2 separate regions of the Homo sapiens genome follow, and region 2 is linked to region 1. The links are contacts of gene promoters, found by promoter capture Hi-C in human tissues and cell types (Jung and others, 2019). All regions are on one chromosome and are shown on one strand. Each heading gives the region's core, a stretch centred on a gene start or on the middle of the fragment in contact. The rest is flanking DNA. Distances are from core to core; before and after follow the strand shown. Region 1 holds the start of C8B (complement C8 beta chain). Region 2 overlaps C8A (complement C8 alpha chain).

Evidence for each region. Contacts are between HindIII fragments. The study calls those that stand out against the background at their distance.
Region 2: a contact is called between a fragment that was not itself captured here and the fragment with the promoter of C8B in region 1, in 9 of the 25 tissues and cell types used here (H1 embryonic stem cells, IMR-90 fibroblasts, aorta and 6 more).

The regions. Positions count from the first base shown.
Region 1 is chr1:56,964,128-56,970,295 of GRCh38, forward strand. C8B (complement C8 beta chain) reads right to left here and starts at 1,888. Exons shown (of 12, transcript NM_000066.4): 1 at 1,730-1,888. The coding sequence starts at 1,821. It overlaps LOC112267900 (a long non-coding RNA gene), which reads left to right. Exons shown (of 8, transcript XR_007066117.1): 2 at 5,453-5,629. The HindIII fragment of the contact is 9,311 bases long and covers 1-6,168 here.
Region 2 is chr1:56,879,704-56,885,710 of GRCh38, forward strand. It overlaps C8A (complement C8 alpha chain), which reads left to right. Exons shown (of 11, transcript NM_000562.3): 5 at 1,742-1,931; 6 at 3,778-3,978. Among named protein-coding and RNA genes, the nearest start is that of C8A, 28 kb to the left of the region's middle. The HindIII fragment of the contact is 5,987 bases long and covers 1,726-6,007 here.

The sequences.
Region 1 (6,168 bases), core at 638-3,137:
ACATAGCGAGAAGGAGAGATTACACCCACCTCATGATGTTGTAGTGACAATTAAATACAATTTCTCAGACTGCACTCTAATCAACAATTTGCCCCTCCACTCCCTACCTCAGAGTGAACTTCCTAATATATATATTTGATCGTGTCACTCCTTTGCTTCAACTCTTCAATGGCTTCCCAATGCATTGTGGTGAGGATATAGTTCAAGTTCCTTAGCTGGTACTCCAGCATCCCCCAACTCTGCCCATGACATGATGCCTGTTCACTCCTACTCTATCTCATCCCTCTCAACTTCCTGCCGGGACCTGTGTTCAAGGCCCACTGAGGTGTCTGGAAGCTTCAGGAGCAAGCCAGCTCTCTCACACTCACGCACCGTTGCCTGTGCTGCTCCCTCTACCTGGCACACCTTTCAACCCCTTAGCCATTCGGCAAACACCCACGCACCTGTAGAGATTCAGCCCTCACACTCTCTGTTCTAGAAGCCTTTCCAGGCCCTATGCCCTGTAGAGCTGATCATTCCCTCCTTGTTTCCTGGCTGCCCCGTAGCATCTTTTGTAACGGTACACATAGCATATGCTCACATGTTGGCATTCTTTGTGAGAACATAGGCTCATCTCTGTATCCTCAGAGCCCAACAGAAAGCTCCACCCAGGGGCACAATGCTATAGATAGGGTTGCTATGGTTCCCTTAAGTCCTCCATTCCGGAGACATTTTCTTGGGTCCTGAATGCTTCTCTGTGTACACACAGTACACACAAGGAAGGTCTTGGCAGCTTAGTTATTCTCTGGGCTAAATGGAGTTTCTTGATCATCCTAATAGCTGTTACTTATTGAGTGGCCAATAGATAGTGAACGAATGCTCATCATCCTGTGGTTCCTAATGGCAGCTCAACAGAACTGAGACCAGAGGCTGTGTCCCATGGGTAGGAGGTACTCCTCACATAAAGTGAAAGGTTTGTTCAGATCTCATTTTTGGACTAAGTAAAAGGAATGGAATTACAGTCCCTCTTCCCACAGGAGTGTTTACATGGAGGCCGGGGACACATGCACACTTCAACATCTCATGGCAGGGGTTTCTCATGCACACGGAGCATCCCCACATTGCTACGTCACTGGCTCTTCTATCACTGGAGCCCAAGTTTGAGCTCCCACTAGGATATTTTCTTTAGCTTGTTTTGCACCTTGTTAATGGAGACTAACAATGATGAAATAAATCAGCCAGCATTTAACTGCTGGGAACCTTGTGGGGGGTGAGAGAGAGAGAGAGAGAGAGTGTGTGTGTGTGTGTGTGTGTGTGTAAGAAGGGGGTGGGAAAGAACCTGAGAATCTGAAGATTTGGGGTTGATGAGCAGGTAGAGTAGGTCAATCTCATTTATTAAAATCATTTCATGAATTTGCTCTTTTGTCCTCTGTATGTAACAAACTTTCTTTTTCATAAAGAATCACACGGAGGCTTTGTTCAGAATACAGAAAAAATATCCTATTCTTCTCAGCATGACAAAATACATTTAAACCTGTCAGTTTCTTACAGGAACTTTTGTTGAAATCAGCTACTTGGTTCCACAATAATTTGAAAAGAGTTGTTGATAGTATGTTATCAGATGCATGCAAATTGCCTTAAGAGACGTTCCTCATTCAATAGGCATGCAACAAAGAGATGGTCAGCATCATGTGGCTGCACCTTCCCTGTCATATTATTGATCAGGGAATTATTGGTAACTGTCACTTACCTGGAGCCAGGCAAACTGAGACAGCCCAGGGCAGCACAGAGAAGAAATAGCTCCACCGGCGCCCTCCAAGCCCATGTCCTGGAATTCTTCATTTTCCCAATGTGACAGGAGATGCCACAGAGGCTGCTAGACCCATAACAAGCCTGTGCTGTGAGTGCCACTGTCAGCTTCTGTCCCCAAGAGCAAATAGCTCTGCAAAGTAAACAGAAAGCCACTAGTGACTGGAAACAGACTTTGCACAGACCAAAAACTTACCTGTCACTCTGGAAACCAACCAGAATAATGAAAAATCTGTAGCAGCATGGTGTTTATTCCTCTGTAACTTTAGGGTAAGCTGCCAAGTGGACAGGCTATTAGTGAGGTGGCAAGGACTGTGGGATCTAGGTCTAGACAGCCTGGGTTCAAGTACATTCTCTGCCACTGACTAGGTTGGTGCAAAAGTAATTGCAGTTTTTGTCATTGCTTTTAATGGCAAAAACCACAATTACTTTTGCACCAACCTAACAGCTTTGGACTATGGGCAAGTTGCTTTACTTCTGTGCCTTACTCTCCTTACTTGCTAAGTGGTGAGAATTAAACACGTTAATATAAGGAAATGTTTAGAACAGGCCTATGTTCAGCGCTCAGATATGTCAGCTATTATTACTTAGTAGAATTCAGGGTTTGGAGTCAGACAGGCCAAGGTTTGAATTCCATGTTTGCCTCTTTCCAGTTACATGATGTTGAGCAAGTCAGTAAGAGGCTGTAGGGCTCTAGAACCCATCTACCTGACTTCAAATTGCTTCTGTATGATTCACCAGCTGTGTGGCCAGAGAAAATTACTAACCCTCTCTGGGCCTAAGTTCCTTCATCAATAAAACAGGGATAATAATAATACCAACCTCACCGGGTTGTTGTGAAGATTAAATAAATTAGATTATTATTAATTATTATTGTAATTATAATTAATTATAATTATTATTATTAAATAAATTAGATTTATTTAATCTTCACAACATGTTCAAAACATGTTGAACATTGCCTGGCACATTCTATGTGCACTCTCTATAAGTGAGCTGGTATTTTTATTGACTGTCTCTGATTCTGTTTCTTCATATGTAAAATTAGGAGGACTATGACAACTTACCACTCACAGTTGGGAGAGTCAGACCAAATACTAAATGTGTAATTGTTGAACAAATAGGCATTATAGAAATAACTACATGACACTTTGGGAGGCCGCGGCGGGCGGACCACGAGGTCAGGAAATCGAGACCATCCTGGCTAACATGGTGAAACCCCGTCTCTACCAAAAATACAAAAAAAATTAGCCAGGCATGGTGTTGGGCGCCTGTAGTCCCAGCTACTCGGGAGGCTGAGGCAGGAGAATGGCGTGAACCTGGGAGGCAGAGCTTGCAGTGAGCCGAGATCGCGCCACTGCACTCCAGCCTGGGTGACAGAGCGAGACTCCGTCTCAAAATAAAACAAAACAAAACAAAACAAAAAAAACCCAGGAAATAACTACATGAAAATAATTATCTAAATATATATGTGCTGTTGTTGTTATTGTTTGCATCCCAAAAGATACAAATGACTGAGGTTCTCAAACCTACCTTCCTGAAAACCATCCCTGACTCCCCAGAATCAACATATTAAAGTCCAAACTGCACCAACCTGGCATTTACAAAACCAACCTGCAACGCATAAAGGGCTGAGTCCACGTGTTGGATGGCGTCCTGTTGCTTTTGCTATTGCAGATGTGGGTGAGGAACCTCACATGGGAGAGGCAGCTTGCAAGGTATGAGGGTGGGCTAGTAGAAAGAACACTGGATTTGCTTTCCTTAAACACAGTTACAGAGTTTCTCTAAGACTCTGTTTTCTCATCTGTGAAATAGGGATAATAATTCATTACTACCTACTTGATAAGTTTGTTTTGGGTTTGAACGTACAAAACGGGAAGCCTCCCCCTCCTGCCACCCCTGCCGAGTAGCTGGGTTGGGGTTGGAGAATCAAATAAGGAAGTATAGTGAGGGGATGGATGGGAAAGCCACAGAAGATGGTAGTCCTCTCACATTAATTGTGTCCAAAACACAGAACACAAGTTCTGCTGCCAGACCACCCAGGATGCATTCCAGTTGTCATAAGCCTAGGTGCAAGACTCCATGTCACCGTTGTCCCAAAGGATGAATTGACCTGAACTTTGACGCAATTGATTGTGGTGGTTAATCATTTGTAAACAAGCAGAAACTTGTGTTTCAAGAAAGATCCATGTCCTGTCTCCTATCTGCCTGCCTTTAAGAGAAGCCAAACCCTTAGAAGACAGGGCTCCCCTTCGACCTCCTCAACCTGATGTACTCACGGAGGAGCCTGCAGGTTTAGAGAGGACAGTTACACGAGTGAATCCTGTGCTCTCTCACCTCCAGGATTTTTGCATGCCGTTCCTTCTGTCCAGAGTATGTGCCACTTAGCTAAATACGACTCATTATTCGAGTTTTATATTAATGTCACTTGCTCAAGAAAGCCTTCCCAATAGATTCCCCTGGGGTTCTTAACGCTCCAGGCGCCCCCAGGTCTCCCGGAGTTCCAACCTCATCGCGCCCCCTGGTGGTTTCCCAGTGCAGCTCACCTGAGATCCCGCCTGGAGGACGGCAGCCTCAGGCTTTAGTGATAGTAATACACATATTTTTCAGGGACAGTTCTTAACAATTTAACAGTTTTCCCATACATCATCTTGTTTGATTTTGACAATAAGCCAAGAAACATAATATCATCTTCCAAGCCTCTAAGATGGGGCTTCACAGCTGTTTCCACAGCTGGTTAGTAGGACATCTTTGGCTTGATACACTTTTTTTTCTGACTCCTAAATGCTCCTTTTTCTAGCTCTGAAGCTTCCCCTTGCCCTTAGGATGTGCCAGCACTGCTTTAAGTCTTCACAGTTATCACACCACACTGCTCTTCTGGTCTAGCTGCTCTTACTCAGGGCTATAGATCTCATCTCTGACCATGCGAGAGCTTTGAAACTGATCATATGTCTCTAGGCCTTTAAACGATATGAAGGAATTTGTAACTCTAGGTCTGCGGATCCACTAACAGTTTGTTGTTTTTCCAACTTTTATTGACTGATTTTCCAGGCTCCACCCAGTTCCACAGCCAATGCCACTTTTCATGTTTCTGCTATGGCAGCACTCCACTCCTGGTACCTATTTTTGTATTAGTTAGCTTTTGCTGCATAACAAATAATCCCAAAATTGTAGACTAAAACAATCATCATTTATCAGCTCACAATTCCTTGGGTCATCAAATAGGCCTAGGCTAAAATGGGTGCTGGCCTTGCCTTGGTTCAGCCAACTGGTAGGTCAGCAGGAGCCTGGTTGGTCCAGGATGGCCTTACTCACCTGCCTGATGATTCATTCTGTCTGTCAGTTAGCACTGGCTGTTGGCTGAAGTGATGAAGTAAATGGGCCACATGACTCCAAATAGACTAACTCAGGCTTGATCTCAGGGTGATCTAATGGTTTCAAAAAGCAGCAAGAAAAGACAAGCCCCAGTGCACAAGTGCTTTCCAAACTTCTGCTTGCCTGATGTTTCTTAATGTCTCCTTGGCTGAAGCAATGGCCAAGCCCACATTCAAGAGCTAGAGACAGAGCTTATACCTGTTGATGGGAGGAAGAGCAGAGTCACATTGCAAAGGGGTATGCCTACAATTTTGGAAGGAATTCGTGGACATTCGGCAATTTCTTACAGACATGTGACACTTTCGGGCTGAAGCACTTAAGAGCCAGTGTGCCCTGTCCATTTCTGTCTTCTGTCCTGTGGATTTGGAAGCATGTGTTGACAGAACAATGTCTTATGGTGAAGGAAGCCTAAACCCCTGAGTCATTGGATGGAGGAGAGCCCATGTTGACCCATAAAGGACTTCATGTGAGTTAGAATTCAACTTTTGTTGTGCTATGTTATTGGGATTTGGTGGTTTATTGTTGCTGCAATAATACCTACCCCATTCTGACCAATATACTTTTAATATATTCTTACATTGCATAAAAAATTTGGTGTGTATATACATTTTTCTGGGGGAAAAATCCATAACTTTCCTGAGATTCTCAAAAGGACTTAAGATTTAAAAGAAGTAAAACAAAACAAAACATTTCCTCAAGAGATACAACTTTTTCAGCCAACATAATTATCTGTCTCCTTTTGAAGATCATGTGATATAGTGTGAAGTATTTGAGGATTCAGAAAGACTGAGACATCTCATTTCTCCTGTGACTTAGTTTATATCCTGGACCAACCCCTTAAGCCCTCTAAGCTGTAGTTTACTGAGTTTCAAATGCAGGCTTGTTGATAAAACACTTCAACAATCATTTATTGAGCACCTACTAGATGCCAAGTGCAATGCTACTTGACTGGGTATAAAGATGAGTGTGTAATGGACCTTCCCTATGAAAGCTCACAGCTTAGTG
Region 2 (6,007 bases), core at 3,469-5,968, 82 kb before region 1:
CGTCTAGTAGAGTATGTATTCAATTTACTGTAGTTATTATTACATCACTTCCACTAATATGAAGAAAGAGAAGGAGAAAGAAAGAGAAAAAGGAAGTTAACATACATTGAATTTCTACAATCTGCCAGGTGCTCTATAATTATCCACTTATTCCTTTGAAGTGGGTTTTATTCGCAGTTTATCCCCTGCTCCTTTCCTGCCTTGTGCCTTTTCACAGAGGCCATAAACAATCATGACGATCGCTATGCTACAGGTAGTCACTGCATCCCTTGGGAACACAGAGGAGGAAACAGCAGTCTTTCCAGAGCATTCAAAGAAGGCTGTTGACAGAAGGCAACATTTGAGTTGGCTCCTTAAGGTTAAATAGGAGTTTGAGAGACAAAAAACGAGCAATAACTACATTATCTGCAACATAAGAGGCTTTGATTGTCAGGTCTTAGAACTCTTAGCCAACTCTACAGTTTTTGTTCTGTTAACTTTCCCTTTTTAGAAAATTAAAGCTGTATTTCATCTGCTTGACATTATTTTACCTGAATATGGTAAAACCATCCATATCCTAAAACATGGAACCCGGGTTGATGATTTTTAAATACTCTAGAAAGGAAAGTATAGAGAAATATTTCTGGAAGAGTGTTGGGCTAGGGAAAAGTAAGTATAATTTGTTGAATGCCTAATATGTACTTTACTGCTGTTTTAGTTTCATACTCTCAGCATCACAAAAACCATGAGAGGTAGGTATTATTATGTCTATTCTTTAAATGAGGAAAATGAAATGCAGAGAGCTTCTAGACTGTGTTCAAAGTCATACAGCTAGTAAGTGGCAAAGCTGGAAATTAAACAGGAGTCTCCCTGACTTTTGAACTGTGCACCCTCCAATGTCCCATGCTGCCTCAAAGATAATGGCCTTTCTGAGGATTAGAGTCTCAACCTTAGCACTATGAATTGCATCCAATATTTCAAAGTTTTTTTTTGTAGCAGCAGAGCCCTTATACTATACTAAGAATTATACTTAATACTAACAATTGCTACAATAGCAACCTTTATTCAGTCCTTAATGTATGCTGAGCACAATTATGATTTCTTTACATGTTTCAACTCATTTAACTCTATGAGGGCAGTAGTATTTAAGAACTGCTTTTTACAAATGACTAAACCGAGGCACAGAGAGGTTAAATGGTATGCCTGAGGTCACACAGCTAGATGTGGCAGAGATGGGAAATGGGCCCAGACTGTCTGGCTGCTGCCCTTGGATTCATGATAATTGCACATATTCTTCTCTAACTTATTCAACAAATATTTAGGGCTGCTTCCCATGTGGGAATATGATTCTAGATGCTAAATAGGACTGTCTAGATGATCTGGGTAAAGGAAATCTGAAGGCTCAGGCCAGCCCATTTAGTCTCCAAGTGTTACCTAAAGTGGCCCATAAGCTTCTTGGAGGAACCCCAGGGCTCCACAGAACATAGATTGAGAAACTGTTACTTGTACCAGCTACAACATCTTTCAGAAGATGACATTATATGCTACCTTGCTTTTCTAATTCTCTCTCCTAAAAGCTGCTTTTGCTTTTGCTTTTTAATTTCCAACTTTTATTTTAAGTTCAGGGGTACATGCGCAGGATGTGCAGGTTTGTCACATAGGTAAACGTGTGCCATGGTGGTTTAATATACAGATCATCCCATCACCCAGGTATAAAACCCAGCATCCACTAGCTATTTAGAAGCTGCTTTGTTCCATGTAGGTACAATATCCTGACCCAGGAAGATGCTCAGAGTGTGTACGATGCCAGTTATTATGGGGGCCAGTGTGAGACGGTATACAATGGGGAATGGAGGGAGCTTCGATATGACTCCACCTGTGAACGTCTCTACTATGGAGATGATGAGAAATACTTTCGGAAACCCTACAACTTTCTGAAGTACCACTTTGAAGTAAGTCTGAACAGAGGGGCTCTGAGGCCACTGTGGTGTAGGTGGCAGAGAGGCAGAGGCCTATTTGTGGAGATGACTTGCTCTGGAAGCTTTTGTTTTCTATAAAGTTTGCTGGTGTCTGAAGTCTCCTTCATACCCATCCCCACACATGCTTAGTGTCGAAGGGTGCTGAGAGGCAGATCATAAATGTGGCTACCCACCTGTTAAATCTTGGCTCCATTCCAAAATCAGTAAAATAGATCTGAGGCTCTATTATCTGGGCTGCCAATCAGACAACCTATTTCTAAGTTGTGGCTCTGTTAGACTATATACAAGACTGTTAGCAGCTAACTCACTGCCCTCCTTGGGCCCAGTTTTCTAATCTGTAGAGTGTGGGGGAGGACAGGGCATAGATGAGCAGGATTCTGAGACCTGTGCTTTTGTTTCACCAAAGGCAGCTCACACTGATCATTTTCATGTCTTGGCTCTTTGTATGTGATTTTGTATGAAGCAAGGGTTCTTCTGTACAAAAATGCTTGCAAATTGCTGACGATCACTAAGACTCTCTCCATCTCTACAATTTGGTGGTCTCTTGGTCACTTGGAGCTCATGATCAGTCAAGGGCCTACTCATGGCCATTAATTTTCTTACCACTCATCCTTTGGGTGAAACATCCACACAGCGAACATCATTGAATGCTTAACATGTGTCAGATCTTCTACTTTCACACAAATTCTCCCATTTAATCCTCACAACACAATGGGATAGATATTATCATTGCCTCATTTTAGATATTAAGAAAAAGAAACACAAAGGGTTAAAGTGTCAGGATCAAACTCTACTGCAGTTGGTGGCAAAGACAAGACCCAAACCTAGATCTGTCTGAACTAAGTCCAGGCTGCACAACATTTAGAAGAAGAGATAGATTATACACTTTCTAGAGAGAGATAGTAGGATCCTAGGATTCTGAACAAAATACTGACAGAAAATAAGGCCAAGCTTATAGGGCCTGTTTTTAAGAAGTTTGCTCCCCCAACCCCACTCCAACCTCTACTCTCTATCAGGCCAATGGTAAATCAAGGTGGAAGACATAAACAACACCATGTTCCTAATCTCAAGGAAGGTCTTGGGGCTCTGTATCAGGCAAGACGGACTAAGTGCTTTGGGAACAAAGAATTCTCAAATCTCAGCAGCTGAAGCAACAATACCTTGCTTATGCTATTTGTCCACCCTAAAGTAGAAAGGAAACTGACCATCACAGACACTCAGGGACTCAAGGTAATGGAGGCTCCATTTCAACACATGCTCTCATGATTGCAGAGCAAACTACTCACAGGCTCATAAGGCTTACTTCTTTGGCTCAAACAAGGCCAAGACCATGTCTCAGTTCAAGACAGCAGAGAAATGAAATCCTGTATACCACTGCCTAAGACAATCCAAATCTGCAGGTTTCCTTTGCTTCTTTCCTCCCAGGCTCCTGCCCAGATGTGGCTTTCTGTATCTCACTATTGCAAAGACAAGCAGCCAGCCTTCTCTCCTGGAAGGATAAGCCAGCAAGAAAGAAATCCACGCTCAGAGCAATATAGCATTTGATCAGAATCATCTGCATCTGTGTGTGTGTGTGTGTGTGTGTGCAAGCACATGTGGTGTGTAAATAAGTATTTTATCAGTACCACTAAACACTAACAATGCTGTGTTTTCTATATTTTAATAAGTATCAGTCTAATGACTGGATTGCCTTATAAAAGAATTACCTACCATAATCTAAAATTTTAGATATTTTACAAAGCAAAGATTTAAGTATTAAATATGAATTGAGAAATGGCTCTATGTGCACAAAGCTAATATCTATCCTTTTTTTTTTCAGGCCCTGGCAGATACTGGAATCTCCTCAGAGTTTTATGATAATGCAAATGACCTTCTTTCCAAAGTTAAAAAAGACAAGTCTGACTCATTTGGAGTGACCATCGGCATAGGCCCAGCCGGCAGCCCTTTATTGGTGGGTGTAGGTGTATCCCACTCACAAGACACTTCATTCTTGAACGAATTAAACAAGTATAATGAGAAGGTATTCAAACATAATGTCTGTGTCTCACAGTATTCCATAATATACACTGAACACGTATTACCTTAATTGCATTAAAAAGTACAGTAGTAATTGAACCTTAATTTGCTTGTGTAATTGGAAATGTCTGATCAGTGGTAATCAGGTTTGTTTTTCTTATTACGCTTTTGCACACAGAATCATCACAAAGGAAATAAAATTGAATGATAAGACTAGGACTCTTATCACTTTGCCCCCCCCATCATCATTTTTTATGGTTACCTGGAGCATATAGGGAAATGTGTAGAATGGTAATGTTTTAAGAGAAACAGCCAGACCCTCTAAATTTCACTTGGAAGAATTGTAAAGCAAGCCTTGCTTTTCCAAAAAGATAGAAGGACTGGTATGCTAAAAAAAAAAAAAAAAAAATTTCATTTTTCCAGTAAACCTTCACCATTAAGTGCCTATTATCCTGGGGGGTCAATATATGCTTCCTTGAGGAAAGAACATTGATCTAAGCTTAGATCTAAAGATTAGTGCAAATTGTCCAGACAAAGGGAGACAAAAGTTGGCAGAAAGGTGCTCTAGGCATGGAAATCAGCATGTGCGAGGGCCTGGAGATGAGGAAGCCACACAAAAACTTGGGATTGAAAGTACTTCAGCCAGCTGAAGCACAGGGTGGGAAAGGAAAACAGAGAGTGATGAGGTTGGAGATGTAATCAGGTGGCCAGGGGAATATTTATTGAATTAATTAGAAGCTTACTAAAAATTCTCAATTGCATTAATACCAAGACTATGGATCAAGGTGGGGTTCAAAAATTATCTTGAATGATGAAAATATAGTTATAAAAATCAACTTACTCAACACACATAAATTGAGTCCTAGAGCTTTGCCAAAGAATTAGCTATTGAGCTGAAGGTAAAGTCCTATATTGTTCAAGGGTTATCTGTAGCGTGTTAATATGGACTTTTCTAAAAGCATGTGGACTCCTCTAACTTCCATCATCACTTTGAATCAAGGCTTCTATTGCCTGAAAGTAAAGCCCATAGATGGCCATCTTCCTGTAAAACCAATCCAAAATTCTTCCAGTGCTATCTCTTATTTTTTTATATAAAGATGCTGCTTTTCTTTATTACTTAGTTCAAGATTACTATTGGAATGTAAACTCCATGGGGGCAGGAGCCTATCTCATTCAAGATTATGTCCTCTGCACCTAGTGTAATGCATTCTACTATAGGCATTGTAGATCTTTGCTCAATAACTTCAATTGAATGACATTTCAGCATGTCACTAAAGATATCTTAAACACAGTTTTTAATGGATATGTAATATTAGCATAGGAGGTTTCACAATGCAGTGCTTTGATTAGCACTAGGAGAAGTGTGGGGGTGGGAATAGATTGGGAGAAGAACAGAAGGGTGAAGCACAATGAAGAAACCATTGTAGTAGCTCACCCAGGTGAGAGCTGATGAGAACTTGACCTAGGCAGGGGCAATGGGAACAGAGATGGAGGTGTGGGGGAAGTCTGGCACACATTGGTGCCTAGTATGTGCTTGTGAAATATAGTAGTACTCCAATTACATGTATTTATGTTCATATACGTGTTTATATATAAATATATATTTACATAAATATATATTTATATATATTTACATAAATATATTTATTTAAATATATATTTACATAAATATATATTTATGTAAATATATATTTATATTTATTTAAATATATATTTAAATAAATATATATTTATTTAAATATATATTTAAATATATATTTAAGTAAATATATATATATTTCCGTAAATATATATTTATTTAAATATATATTTACGTAAATACATATATATATTTCTTACAGCTACTAAAAGCTGACCTTTTGCATCCTTTCTTTTTTGTTTTTTTTTGTTTGTTTTTTTTTTTGAGGCGGAGTCTTGCTCTATTGCCAGGCTGGAGCGATCTCGGCTCACCGCAACCTCTGACTCCCTGGTTCAAGCGATTCTCCTGCCTCAGCTTCCCGAGTAGCTGGGATTACAGGCATGCACCACCATGC